2 separate regions of the Homo sapiens genome follow, and region 2 is linked to region 1. The links are contacts of gene promoters, found by promoter capture Hi-C in human tissues and cell types (Jung and others, 2019). All regions are on one chromosome and are shown on one strand. The core of a region is centred on a gene start or on the middle of the fragment in contact, and the rest is flanking DNA. Distances in the headings are between cores, read along the strand shown.

Region 1 (6,672 bases), core at 2,044-4,543:
TATGAACCTGATGTTTTCCACTTTGCTGTTCTAGAAGCAAGGCACTATAGTGGAGAAAGTACTGAAAAGTATTGAGATTGTTTTACTCCAAGTAAGAGGAGATTGTGTGACTCCTTTTACTAGATGTATGAATTTAGACAAGTAACTTACTATTAGTTTATTCTCTCCCGGTCTTAATGGGTGAACTAATAGCAAAACAAGTATCAAAGCACAGTGTCTGAACTACTATTTATCTGTACCTGTATGACTACAGCATCATTATTGGTGCATCTTTGGGAAATCTTAGAGAATGGAAGAAGTACCAATAGATTTCAAATAGAAGTAAATGTCCACCTTCCCCAGTTTACAGTCTGAAACAACAGCCTGAGACTCTTTTATACGCTGAGCTCCAGAACAATCTTAGATTTTGATAATTAAACAGCTTACTTTTGGGAACTCTAAAGGAACACAAAGACCATCAGGAATCCAAGTGGATGCACCAATGGTGTTACAGAACTCCATTCTTACTTCTTTTGTGGTAGGGTTATTTGACTGATGCGGGAGGTGGTGTCCCAGATTACATATCTGTATTTCAGTAAAGTATGTAAGAAAGGCATTTATAGTAGCCCTATGAACAAGAAGAAATTTGGGCTGCAAAATAATATATTTATGTAGGTTATTTTTTAATTATAACTTTTATTTTAGGTTCAAGGGTACATATGTAGGTTTGTTACATAAGTAAACTGCATGTCATGGAGGTTTGGTGTACAGATTATTTTGTCACGCAGGTAATAAGCATAGTACTCAATAGGTATTATTTTTCTGACTTAGGTAAGTTCTTGATCATTAAATAAGCATAATCAAAAGTATGAAAGTTAATCCAACAGGGCCTCTATTAGTATTCTGAAGGTATGCCATATTAAGCATAATCAAAAGTATGAAAGTTAATCCAAGAGGGCCTCTATTAGTATTCTGAAGGTATGCCATATCACAGGTTAGTAATAATTAGCACCTTGCCTGGCATACTCTAGCTTTAAAAATACCTTAAAGGTTCACATATAGAGACATCAATACATGATTGGGTATTACAATTGGAAGGAACACACACACACCCACCCACACACACACACACACACACACATATTTTTGAGACAGAGTCTCGCTCTTGTTGCCCAGGCTGGAGTGCAATGGCATGATCTCGGCTCACGGCAATCTTCACCTCCCGGGTTCAAGCGATTCTCCTGCCTCAGCCTCCCAAGTAGCTGGGATTACAGGCATGCACCACCACGACCGGCTAATTTTGTATTTTTTTTTTTTTTTTAGTAGAAATGGGGTTTCTCCATGTTGGTCAGGCTGGTCTCGAACTGCCGACCTCAGGTGATCCACCCGCCTTGGCCTCCCAAAGTGTTGAGATTATAGGCGTGAGCCACCGTGCCCACAGGTACTCAAGCACTTGCATGTGATCAAGATGGAGAAGAGCTGACTTTTGCAGTTCACGTGGGAGGAAAAAAGTAAATCTAGAAATTCTAGTTAACTCCAAACACAGTGAGTGTCATTAGTGTTTCTCCAGAAGCCAATCCAATATTAGGCTGCACATAAAGACTGTCCAAAACAAGGACGGAGAGCACAACAATTCAGGAAGAAGACCACCTGGAATGCTCATATGGCCATCAAAGATGACATAGGCTCTGGAAACTATACTACAGGGAAAGTTGGGGCTAAGAAGAACCTTGAGCCAGGAGAAGAAAAGAGTGGATGGTGGGCCATAGAGGCAAGCATGGCAGATGCCTTCTAAGAGGTGAAGGGCCACAATGTACAGATGGTTTGACTTATTCTAGGCGGGTTTCAGAAGAGGCACAAGGCCCAAGCTGAAGCCTAGAAGGTAGCAGTTTGAGTACAATACAAGAAAAAAACATTTTTCTTTGCATTTCTGATGTTCATCAGAACATATGGGACGGAAGCTCAGGAAAGAGATCTTAAGGTAGCATCAAGAGATAGATGTCGTCCACAAGGAGGCGGTATATGAAGCTGTGAAATGGCTTGGGGTTTCCAGTGTCTTCCACCATCATCAGCCCAGAATTACCACCTTCCCAGTTGCACTTCCTCCTAAATCTACATCTCTGGTGCCTTTTGCCTTGAACAGTCTCTTGCCTTGGAGCTTCTCGGCCATCAAACAGAAGGGGGCACCCTGCACCGTCAGTCAAGGCAAGGACCAATCTGGCAATCCCCAACCATGGAAAAGGACCTAAGGCTGGGTGGGATGTAGGAGCCTTCCAGGACCTGGAAGGGAGCCTCCTGTAACTACTCTCTACTCCCTTTAGAGTCCACAGGGCTGGAACTCTAAATGCAGAATAAGGTTAGGGGTGGGCAGAGAGGAAGGGTTGTGATGCCACCTGACTTCCAAATTGAGGGTGGCACAGGATCCCCCAGAAGCTCCCTGGGGTACAGAAGTCACAGCAACCCTGGACAATCCAGGGGTTTGGTAAAGTGTACTTACCAATTTTGAAGAGGGGAAGGGGTTCTCTTAAGGTGTAGAAAGGACTATCCAGGGAGTTGCAAACTTTGTTGTAAGTGGACAATCACCCTCGCTCCTCACTGCACCGTCTTCTCCTTGCCCAACAATGCACGCGGGTCCTAGCAAGGTATTCGAGTCCAGATCTCTCTCTCTCTCTCTCTCTCTCTCTCTGTCTCTGTCTCTCTCTCTTTCCTCTCTCTGTCTCTCTGTCTCTGTCTCTCTCTTTCCTCTCTCTCTCTCTCTGTCTCTGTCTCTCTCTTTCCTCTCTCTCTCTCTCTATCTCTGTCACACACACACACACACACACACACACACACACACACACACAGGCAAAGTGGGCAAAGCGGGCAAAGCGAGCAAAGCGAGAGGGTTGGTACCCAGTCTGGGCGCGCTGGAGCTAAGCAACTGGCCTTTGTTTGTGAATTGGAGCAGTTTAGGGGACATCCTCCGGTCGCCGCGGGGCGCGCGCCTCCGCTGAGTGTGCGGTGCGGTACCCAGCGGTGCGGGGGAGGCTCCACCGCGCCAGCCCAGGGCCCCCGCACCGCCCCCGCCAGCTCGACGCGCCCAGCGTTGCGCTCTCCACGGAGCGGGCGGCCGCAGCGCACTTGGCTGGGGCGAGAGGCGAGAGGGGTGGGCGGACTGCTTGGTTGGCGTTGGCGCTCTGCAGTGCAGTGGAGTGTTAGCCCAGCTCCCTATATGGTCGGGGATTAGCTTGGCGCTGCTGAGGCTGAGGCTGAGCCAGGAGCTGGAGGAGGAGGTGGAGGACGAGGACGAAAAGGAGGAGGAGAAAGAGCGCAGCAGCAGTCAGCGCACGCCGAGCGGCTGCCGGGGGAAGCAGAGGCGCCGGAGGCTGGGGCACCGCCGACGCCTCGGGAGCCATGGCCGAAGGGGGAGAAGGAGGCGAGGACGAGATCCAGTTTCTGAGGACTGTGAGTCTCCGCGGCGGGGGCGAGGCCGTGGGCAGGTGGGGAGGAGCGCGGAGCGCGGCGAGGAGGGGCTGGCTGCGCTGCGCCGCGGTGCCGGGTGCCCGGTGCCGGGCGCTTTCTCCGCACCCGCGGGCTGCAGAGGCGGACCGGCCACCTACCCGCGGGGCCGCGAGGGGCTGCGTGGGAAGGGGCACCATCTCCTGCCTCTCCCTTGTTCCCCTACCGCCACCCCTGCCCCAGGCCCTCCACCTAGGACCGCTCGCTCTCCAGGCAACTTGCTACTTGGTCTGAAACCCTTGATGCCCAAACTTCAGCCGGGGTTTGTTCGCGGTTGTCCTGACCCATAAGATCGGCGTTGGAAGCCCTCGCCCCGGGGTCGGCCCTCTGACACCTCCATACTCCACCCCAGCCCCATTCCTCTTCCAGGGCGCCCCCACGCACAGGGGAACCTCCGGGAAGGAGCCAGCGGGGCAGGGGGGAGTGTGGGGAGCCGGGTCGGAGAAGCGGGCGCAGGCGCTTGGTCCTAGCCCTGGGATCGCTCGGAGGGGAATTCACCCAGCGCTGCCCCTCTCGTGTTAAGCCCCACGCCGGCAACTGCTGCTGGAGCCTGACTTGACTGACTGCCTGTCGTGTGTTCGAGAGCTGTGGCTTCTGCTCCTGGCTCCCGCGAGCCCCGCAGGACAGGGAAACCCCAGTCAGTGGCTCCGCGTCACTCAGGTCCCCTCCTTGACACCTGAGGGCGCTGCTCCGTCCCAGATTTGGGGGTGAGGGGGCGAAGTCTGTTGCAGCCACACCAGCCTTGCCCTGTAGGAGATAATACAAAGACTTTCAGGGTGGACGGCCACCCGGAGGGGTGGGGGCATTGGGGATGCATCCTAGCGCTGACTTCAGCCAAGTGACCTTGAGCAAGTCGCATAATCCGCCCTACTCAGCCTCAGTTTCCTCATGTGTAAAATAAAATGTAACCAGCGTTTCAGGGTGATAAGGATTAAACGTTATCGTGAATGTCATAATGTTTTGTAAACGGCAAATCGCTCTGTAAATCTTAGGTAATTTTATATGCGCTGCCTTGCTCTCAGGAATTAGAATGAAATTCTTTCTTTCCCTCTCTCACTTCCCTTTAAGGGTGCCCCCTTCTCCATGACCTGGTCTTCGAAGATCACAACTTACCTCTTGTCCATCTTTTGAACCACTCTCCTCCTGTTGAAGCGCTTCCTTCCAATTTACTTCAGTTTCTCTTCCAAACATGGTTCTTTTGTCAAAGCTGGGACTTGGGTCTTATTTGGGGGGGGTATGGAAGTACCTATCGCCCTGCTGGTACTACTGAGAGGCTAGAGTATTCATCTCTTCATCCTTCGTCTGACCTGCAGACCCAGACTCCATTCTCATCTCTCACACTGCACACAAGATGGCCCCACAGTTGCAACTCATGACAACCCTATTGTTATAAAGCTGCCTGCTCCCCTCAAAGCTCCATCAAATCCTTTGGTTGTCCCTCTGACAGGTGTCTTTAGTAGTGGATGGGTGGCAGCTCAGGTTTTTTCTGCCTTGTGTCCTCCATGATCAGTCATTTCTTCTCCTTATTATTAATGATCTTCTAGGCGTTATTGCTTGAAAAAATTATCTTCAGACAGGGTCAGTGTTGAATAGATGTCCCAGGGAGTTGAGGCTTAGGAAGGTGGTAGTTGTTGTGAGATCCTTATGCTTTTCTCTTGGCTTCTGAGCCATCTTCCCTGACTTTTCCTCTCCATCTGGCATTGTAAGTGTTTTTTGTTTTTGTTTGTTTTTGGTACACCTGTAGCCAAGGTTTACTATAGTAGTGGTTCTTAAGTTTTGTGTCCTGGGCTTCCTGCCCTAGAGATCAGAGCTGGCAGACCTCTTTTAAAGTACACCCATGACAGCCTGTGGGGTTCAAGGACCCAGGTTCAGAGCCCCTGTTGCAGAGAACTGCATACCGGTTATGGCTTAGAGCGAGTGATGGTGGTAACCATGGGGGCAGTGACTCCAAATGTGGCGTTATTGGTTCTTTTCCTTCTAGTTATCACCTTATGTATTTTTTAAGGTGTGTTCCTCATTTCTTCACCCTATGAGGCACCTTAACATCTTTGTTTTTAGCTCACTGGGAAGGAAATAGGTGATGAAACTGAAGCACAGGAAATCGAGTGACTTGAACATAGCTGTTGACAAGTTATTGGTAATTTTCATTATACAATGTTCAATTACATTCCCGCTAGAGCCTGGCATTGAGCGTTACGCCAGATGTTATATATAGTCTTAAGAATATACCTAAGAACATAAGAGGAGTACTGCAGCTTTCTGAGCTTGGCATCCTCCTTCTTCATCTGTGAATTCGACAAAATGATTTTTTGGAATCCAATAGCCATAAGCTTTTGATCTCTGCACAAAATTTTGACTTTAGGGTAGTTGGGAACACCAGGCTTGTGCTAGCAGTGGGATTTTTCTCTCCTCTGGGTATGTCTGGGTTAGGGAAGCTATTTCACTTTGAACTCACTCAGTTACCTTTGCCTTAGGCTTTCTTTCTCCTCCCCAGACAACACCTTTAAAAGCATTTTGGCAGTGTATTAGTCATATATAATGCTTCCTCACATCGACATGGTCCTGGATGAGAAGGTGACTCATACTGGACCATGGAATAGAATCATATCTTTGTAACCATGAACTTTAAAGGATTGCCATCCCAGAGAGCAGAAGCTTTTAACCTATTTACAAAAAAAGACCATACAATAGCATTATGCCAAGGATCCTAATCAAATTGTTAGTGGTTGTAGTGTCAGGTTTGTTATAATAGTGCCAAAAATGAAAGCAGCTAGAACTATTGATAGTGTGAAATGAGCCAGAATTACTGCAGTAACCACTGTAGGTGTGTGTGGTGTGGCTTTAGACACTTATTTGTGGTAGTGTTTATTTTGGTTATGTCCTCTGATACATTTGGAAGCCCACCCTCTCCTAAGTAGGGAACAAGACCTAAACAAGGGCTTTGGAAGCTTAAACACATGTGAACTAAATGCTACTGTACCCCAAGCCTTAAGGAGGCAGTCTAAAACTATATACCCTCTTCTGGCCTTCTGAAATCACTGACAGTCATGTATGCCAGTTAGAATCAGGCAGATAGACAGAATCTTTAAGGCTAAAATTTTCCCTCCCACTGCTGTTGGCAGTGGCATCCTCCTCTCTTCCGATTGCTCTTGCTGACGTAGCCAGTGTCATTGACGTGGCTCTGAAGCTGCTCAG
Region 2 (6,672 bases), core at 2,166-4,665, 45 kb after region 1:
CCTTTCTATATTGATAACCACTGGTCTAGATTCCCACTGCTGAGCCAAGCCCACCACACTCTGGAGTCTGCCCTTGTTGACTTAACGAGATAGAAGCAATGAGGAGGTGCACAAAATCCTAGGAGACTTGGTGCTTCGTTTTGTCTCTGCTCATTATCAGCTGCGTGGCTTTAAAAAGACAGTGGTATTTCTCTGTGCTGCAGTTACTTTGGGTCTGATACTCTTTAAGCTAACAATGCATAGAATATTATTCACAAGCAAAAGTTTTACTGGGAAAGTATTTGATTACTCTTACTGAGTTTCAAGGTTGACTACTACAAATAGCTTTTAAAACAGATACCTATGCCCACTTCTGTTTACTCATGGTGGTCATTTAGAGAGCTAAGGTTAAAGCTGTAACTGGATGATTTCTAGGAAGTAGGTTCAAGCAGTTCCAAATATTTCACTTAACACACGAGGACGATGGGGACCTGTTTGCTCTTCTTTTAATATGTTATATTTACTATGCACTTGGAAATCTACCCCGGACCTAACATGAGCTCTCCTTTTGAAAGTGCCCCCCAAAATGGAGCACCTACTCTATGAAACCTTCTCTGACATTTATTAGATAAAGTAGAAAGGTTTAGAGCAGCAGTTCTAGTGTTGTTTCATCTTCTTCATTCCTCTTCTCTAAGGTATATGAGTGCATTTTTTATATTTAGCTTGAATTTAAATTAGAACAGCCTAAGTCAACTGTGGGGAAGATAGTAATATACAGCCAAGTCCGATTTTTGCCTTGGTAAGATATTTCTGTTATTCTATATGCCAAGGAAAGTAACTGAAGAATTTTAAGGAGAATACTGATGTGATTTGATAACTTTTTTGCTTTTTCTGGAGAGGTCACCCTTGAAGGTGCGCATAAAAGGGATTTTAGTTGGGCAGGAGCAAAAGCAGAGAAACATGTTAGGGAGTGATCACAATAGGCAAAGCTACAAAATATCTTGGACCATCTGGTGGCAGTGGAGTTGGGGAGAAGGCATCAGATTTGAAGCTTATTTGGGAGGTAAAGCTAACCAGATTTGCTGTTAGATTGAATCTGAGTGGAAAATATGACAACTAACCATACTGGTTTGCCCAAGACTGTCTTGATTTTACCACTGAAAGTCCCACATCCTAGAAACCCCATCTGGAATGGATGGTTGCCCTAGTGGAGGAACACCTACACTTTAAAATCAGGGGTTGAATCCACAGATCATGAAGTTTCTTTTCCCTACCTCTAAAGTTCTTTGTTGCTGTGATTCTGTGAAATACTCCTGCGGAGCAGTTTTCCCTCAATTAACAGACAGTCTAATGGTGATTTTTTTTTCAGGTAGGTCTAGGGCAGATATTGCAGAAGAAGGCATCCTATATAAGAATAACACATCCCATCCTTTGTAACACCTATGTGAAAGAAAATTCTTTATGGTAGGAGAAATTTAGTTTCCATAAAATAAATCATGTTTTAACTCTGGGGAATGGAAAACTGTGACTCCAGCCTTTTGAAAGATCCTTGAAGAGCAGATTGGACATTGATTTATCTGACGGCTGCCCAGAATCAAAGGAAAGCTTGACATGACCTCTTAGGGTCACTCTTTTGATTCTTTGACAAGTGGTTTGGGTTCTACAGCAAAAGAAGTTGGAAAATGCAAAATTTGGTGAGTACTTATTGTTACTGCCCAACATAAATGTTTAACATCCCATTTTCTCAGATACAGGTGGCATCTATGAGAATTCCTTTGAGAGGCAGTCAACCTACAGCTGTTAAATTCAGCCTCTCTGCAGCATCTACCAAGAAACCACTGTGAAAGAACCATGTAGTAAGATGCCCATTTCTTAGTGTTCCTATCCACCCAGCTTTATTTCTCACATTGGAATCTGGTCTGCCCTCCCTCACTTCTGGTAGAGCATTGCCTCTTGTTTGCTTTCTTTCTGCAAACTGCACACACAAGTGCAAACATTTTGACTAATGTCACCTATGAAGCCTTGAACCTACCCATGGGGAAATGCTCAAAGTCATTTCAAAATCCTGTAAATGAGAGCATCTTTACAAAAAAGAAAAACTGCTAAGTGTCAAGTATCACTTCATAATGCAGCTCTTGACTTGTTATTATTCAAGAATGCCAAGCCTTTCATCTTCTTTGCAAGCCTGCCCTGGAATTGATTTAATCAGCTTTCTGTGCTTGGTGGGAAGTTGTGGTGTGGGAGTAGTTTCTCACTAACTCTCACATATACTCTTTATAAAATAAGTACATCTTTCTTTCAGGAGGTGGTTTATCAAGGTTGATCTGGAAGCTTACTATTTTCCGTGATGCTCAATTTCCTTAGCAATTCACAAGTAAAGTAGTTGGACTTTATTGGCCTGTCTCTGACAGGATCAGTTGAAAACCACCTTTCGGCAGCATTCATCATGAATTATTCCTACAACCAAGATCATGTATTAGTTGGGGCCGAGTGCAGTGGCCTCATGCCTGTAATGCTAGCCCTTTGGGAGGCCGAGGCGGGCAGATCACTTGAGGTCAGGAGATTGAGACCAGCCTGGCCAACATGGTGAAACCCCGTCTCTACTAAAAATACAAAAATTAGCCGGGCGTGGTGGTACACGCCTGTAATCCCTGCTACTCAGGAGGCTAAGACAGGAGAATCGCTTGAACCTGGGGGGCGGAGGTTGCAGTGAGCTGAGATCGTGCCATTGCACTCCAGCCTGAGGGACAAGAGTGAAACTCCCTCAAAAAAAAAAAAAAAAAATCATGTATTAGTTGGCTTGGCCAGACTTGTCATCTTTATATTTTCCAAAACACAAAGCATGAGATCAGGCAAAATTATGAATTCACTATTTAAATGTGAAGGTTTCTAACTTGCAGTCATATTATATTATTTAATGGCCAGGAGAATAAGACTCGTGCTTATGGTAATTAATATTTATTTAGCATCATATGGTACCTATAGCATCACATAGCAGCCTTCCCAGCAACCCTATGAGATGTATGTTATTTTTCCTACTGTACATGTAAGGAAACTGAGGTTGAAAAACTTTAAGGTGTTTGTGAAAGCTGACATCGCTAATAAGCATCAGAGATAGGTTCGCAAATGCTGTGGAAGTCATAAGACAATCAAAGCCACGATTTAATCTTTAGGCTTCTCTTCTGCCATATTTTCTTAGGTAATTTTAAAGAGCCTTTAATCTAGTCATCAAGAGTGTCTAAAACCTTCCAGGCTGGTGTTGCTTCCATTGTAGCTGACTATATGGAGGCCCTTTGTCACTTGGGCCACCAGAAGAAGATGGCTGCTTCTCATCCCTGATCCCCTAGCTAGGTATAACCGGTGCCAATGATATTCATCTTGGGTGGAGAGGATGAGAACTTAGTATCTGTCTGATCCCTATACTCCCTAGGTTCCCGCCACACAATTCAGCTCAGTTATTGGCTTCTTTCTCCTTTTTCCTTTGAAATATGTCATTTGTCTATTCAAAACTTGTTAAGTGCCTGCTTCATATAGAACCCTGTAGTAGATACTGTGAGAGAAACAGAAGAGTGAGACCTTCAGCTGTAGGACATTCAGGTGGAGATTTCCTGCAGATGGATGGCGGGGGGTTCTCAGTTTCAGAGATAGATAAGAACTGTGAGTATAGATTTGTGAATCATGCATACGATGAGGTTCCATGAATCTAAGTGAAGGAGCAGCATGGTTATTTGGAAAGGAATTTTGGAGTGAGAAGGTCCGTGTTAGTCTTATGTCTGACTCTTACTAGATACCTCTGGCAATCTTTATAACCTCAACTAAACCTAAGATCCCTTTTCTCTTAAAGCAGAATAACTGTCATTTCTACCTCACAGCATTGTCACAAGGCTGCAATGAAGTATGCTGGTGTGCTTTGTGATATGCTGTGTCTAAATTTCAGTCGTTAGTGTTATTTTTGTTTCCATCATAAACAAGTGAGAAAAATAAGAGTAGGTGAGGGTGATCCACATGAAAGTGGCCCTCTGGTTACAGTCTGCCACTTTGCAGGTAGGCTTAGAAGTCTGAATTTGAATTTGTGGACTTTTCTCTATGGACATAGTGGCACAGATCTAAGAAATAATGATAATTAAGAACATATCAAAATAAACAAAATTATGTATAATCTCTCTGAATTTTACTTTCTCCCTTAGTAAAATGAGAATGATTATAGACACATAATATGTTTATTTTGAGGATTAAATGAGAGAGGTAAGTAGTAAGGAGTAAGTGTAAGTATAAGTAGATACTTGCAAATTATAAGTAGATACTCTCTGTTCCCTCATCTGTAGATTTTTTCTGTGTGTGCCATTTAGTAAGGTAAGATTGAGGTTTGCTCTCTGAGAACTAATGTAGCATTTAACTCTCCTCTAATGTGGCATATAGTAAGAATCCAGTAAATCACAGGTAGTAATAATTATAATATGGAAAAATAGGCCTTCGGGGGCCATAGTTGAGCAATACCATTTATTACTAGGTAATGTATCCTGGATGCTTCTTTGGAAAGGAGTGATTCCTTATGGCTGGTGACTCATGCTCTGTTCTCTTGGAAGGGTCTTTAGGAAGTGGAAGGTGTCGTGTCCCATCCTTCACTTGTCTATCTCACCTGCTTTCCCTGCCTGTATGCCACCTCTGACTTTGCTTTCCTACCACGTGGCCTGGTCCTGGACATATGTGGTGTTTGCAGCAAACAGAAGTCTAAAAATTTTGAAGGAGGGCCCAGCCCTACTTCTGCCACTTATCAGACCTGAATTATGTGGACACTGCTGGGTTTCTTTAAAATAACTTCAGATCTGGTCTTGAATGGATCAAGAAAGATTTTCTTAATAAAACAAACAAAAACAGCAATCCTGTCCTTTATGAATTTACTTGTTTTGGAAAACTTAATTTCCACATTGGACAAGAGAAAAGGTGAGTCCCGGTAGGTGAGGGCACAACCTGGGTATCACTCTCCTCTCTAGTGACACAAGGGTCACCCTTTGTCACCCTCACCTGTCAATACCCTCTTACATTTTAGAATTTTTCTGGCATTCAAAACCTTCAAATTTTAAAATCAGAACCCTGTTCTCCAGCTAACACATCCAGATTTTCCAACTTCCTGCATTTTTGTCTTGCAGGTTATTTTATAGTGCCTGCTTAAAACAGGCAATAATCTATTGATATCATAGAAAATTTAGAGTTTGATTGCTCTGCCTATGGAGTAGCCATTCTTTATTCCTTTACTTTCTTAATAAACTTGCTTTCACTTAAAAAAAGAAAACTCCACCTTCATTTATAAGTATTTTAAGAAACAACCTGTTCCTTCATTAATTGGACATTATTGACTATTTTAAAACAAACATACAGGGTAATCTTCCCCCAGCACCGCCCCCAGCAGTCACCAGCGAGCCTAATCATGTTTTGGTTCTTTTACACGGAAGTATTTTACATGAATGGCAAACTTACGTTGGATCAGATGGAAAAACTTTACTAGAAGGAGGGCTGTGTCCAAACTCTTACAGCAGTGTAGCCAGTAAGTGATTCTGTCCTTGCATTTGCCAGGGGCAAAAGCATACATCAGTGCCTTTTACCTGAGCAGCATGTGTCAGGGCACGCTCTTAACCTCTAATTACTTTCTTCTAAGCTGGTAGAGTAGAGTCATGGGAAGAGTATGGAGTCAGGTTGGGTCCAATCCTGGCTGAGTGACCACTGACAAGTTGTATATCTCCTCTGAGCCTTGCTTTCCTCCTTGGTAAAGTGAGGATAATAATGCCGACTTCATGGACTTATTTTCCAGGTTAAGAACAAGCTGCCAGGTCCCCAGAAAGTGCTTAGTGGGGTGCAGGGTCTGCCCCTTTGCTGGGCACTCTACCTACTGAGGCACTGCTGCCCATCTGGAACTCAGTCTATCAACAATAAGTGAAACTTGCCTTTCTCCACTGACAAATTCTCTCAGCCTCTGTTTGGCTTACTTGGAATTTGTTTGACAGTATATCTGTCTGGCCCATAAAGAGGGGAATTTAGACAGGGTTGAAATGCATCAAATTAAGTCCTGTCTCCACAAAGAAAACACTTTTGTACTTCTGTGAAAAGGCTGCAGAGACGTGGTGACTGGCCATGAGTCAGCCCAGGACTGTGGTGCAGCTGTGGTCCTTAATCCCTGCCCCACAAAAGATTTGATTTAAATGCCTTGTCACACTTGTTGAAATCTGGGAAGTGGTATCGTTAAAAAAAAAAAAAAAAAAGGACTTGGTTTAAACTTAATTTTAATACTCTGTTAGATTTTGCTTCTTTTGCAGTACCTAGCGCCTTAGCGGTAGTTAAATTTATAAAAATGAGACTTACAATCTTTTGACCAAAATAATGAGGCACTTTCTTCTCCTGAGGGACGATGAGTGTTCTTTTACCAAAGAAGAGTGGCAATCCTAGGTCACATGGCTGAGGGCTTAACTAGGTGCTAGGCACTATTCTAAGCTCATTTTCTTTCGAACATTCTAAGTACTTTTCTAAGCACTATTTCATGTGCTTTGAGTATTTTAAGTATTTTTCAGGTGCTTAGAGCATTCTAAATACTTTTCAGTGTTTCTTCAGAGCCAACCTATGAAGTAGGAACTCTACTCTCCAAATTTACCCTGAACACATTCTCCACTGTTACACCCTAGTTTAGGCCCCTGTCATCTC

What was found. The method cuts DNA at HindIII sites, captures the fragments that hold promoters and counts their contacts. A contact is called where the count stands out against the background at its distance.
Region 2: a fragment that was not itself captured here is called in contact with the fragment with the promoter of RYR3 in region 1 in 4 of the 25 tissues and cell types used here (dorsolateral prefrontal cortex, hippocampus, pancreas and 1 more).

Annotation. Positions count from the first base shown.
Region 1 is chr15:33,307,674-33,314,345 of GRCh38, forward strand. It overlaps RYR3 (ryanodine receptor 3), which reads left to right and starts at 3,294. Exons shown (of 104, transcript NM_001036.6): 1 at 3,294-3,423. The coding sequence starts at 3,373. It overlaps RYR3-DT (RYR3 divergent transcript), which reads right to left and starts at 2,986. Exons shown (of 3, transcript NR_120327.1): 1 at 2,905-2,986. RefSeq lists enhancers at 3,515-4,026, 4,027-4,536. The HindIII fragment of the contact is 9,811 bases long and covers 1-5,969 here.
Region 2 is chr15:33,352,438-33,359,109 of GRCh38, forward strand. All of the region lies in intron 1 of RYR3 (ryanodine receptor 3), which reads left to right. Among named protein-coding and RNA genes, the nearest start is that of RYR3, 45 kb to the left of the region's middle. The HindIII fragment of the contact is 6,688 bases long and covers 72-6,672 here.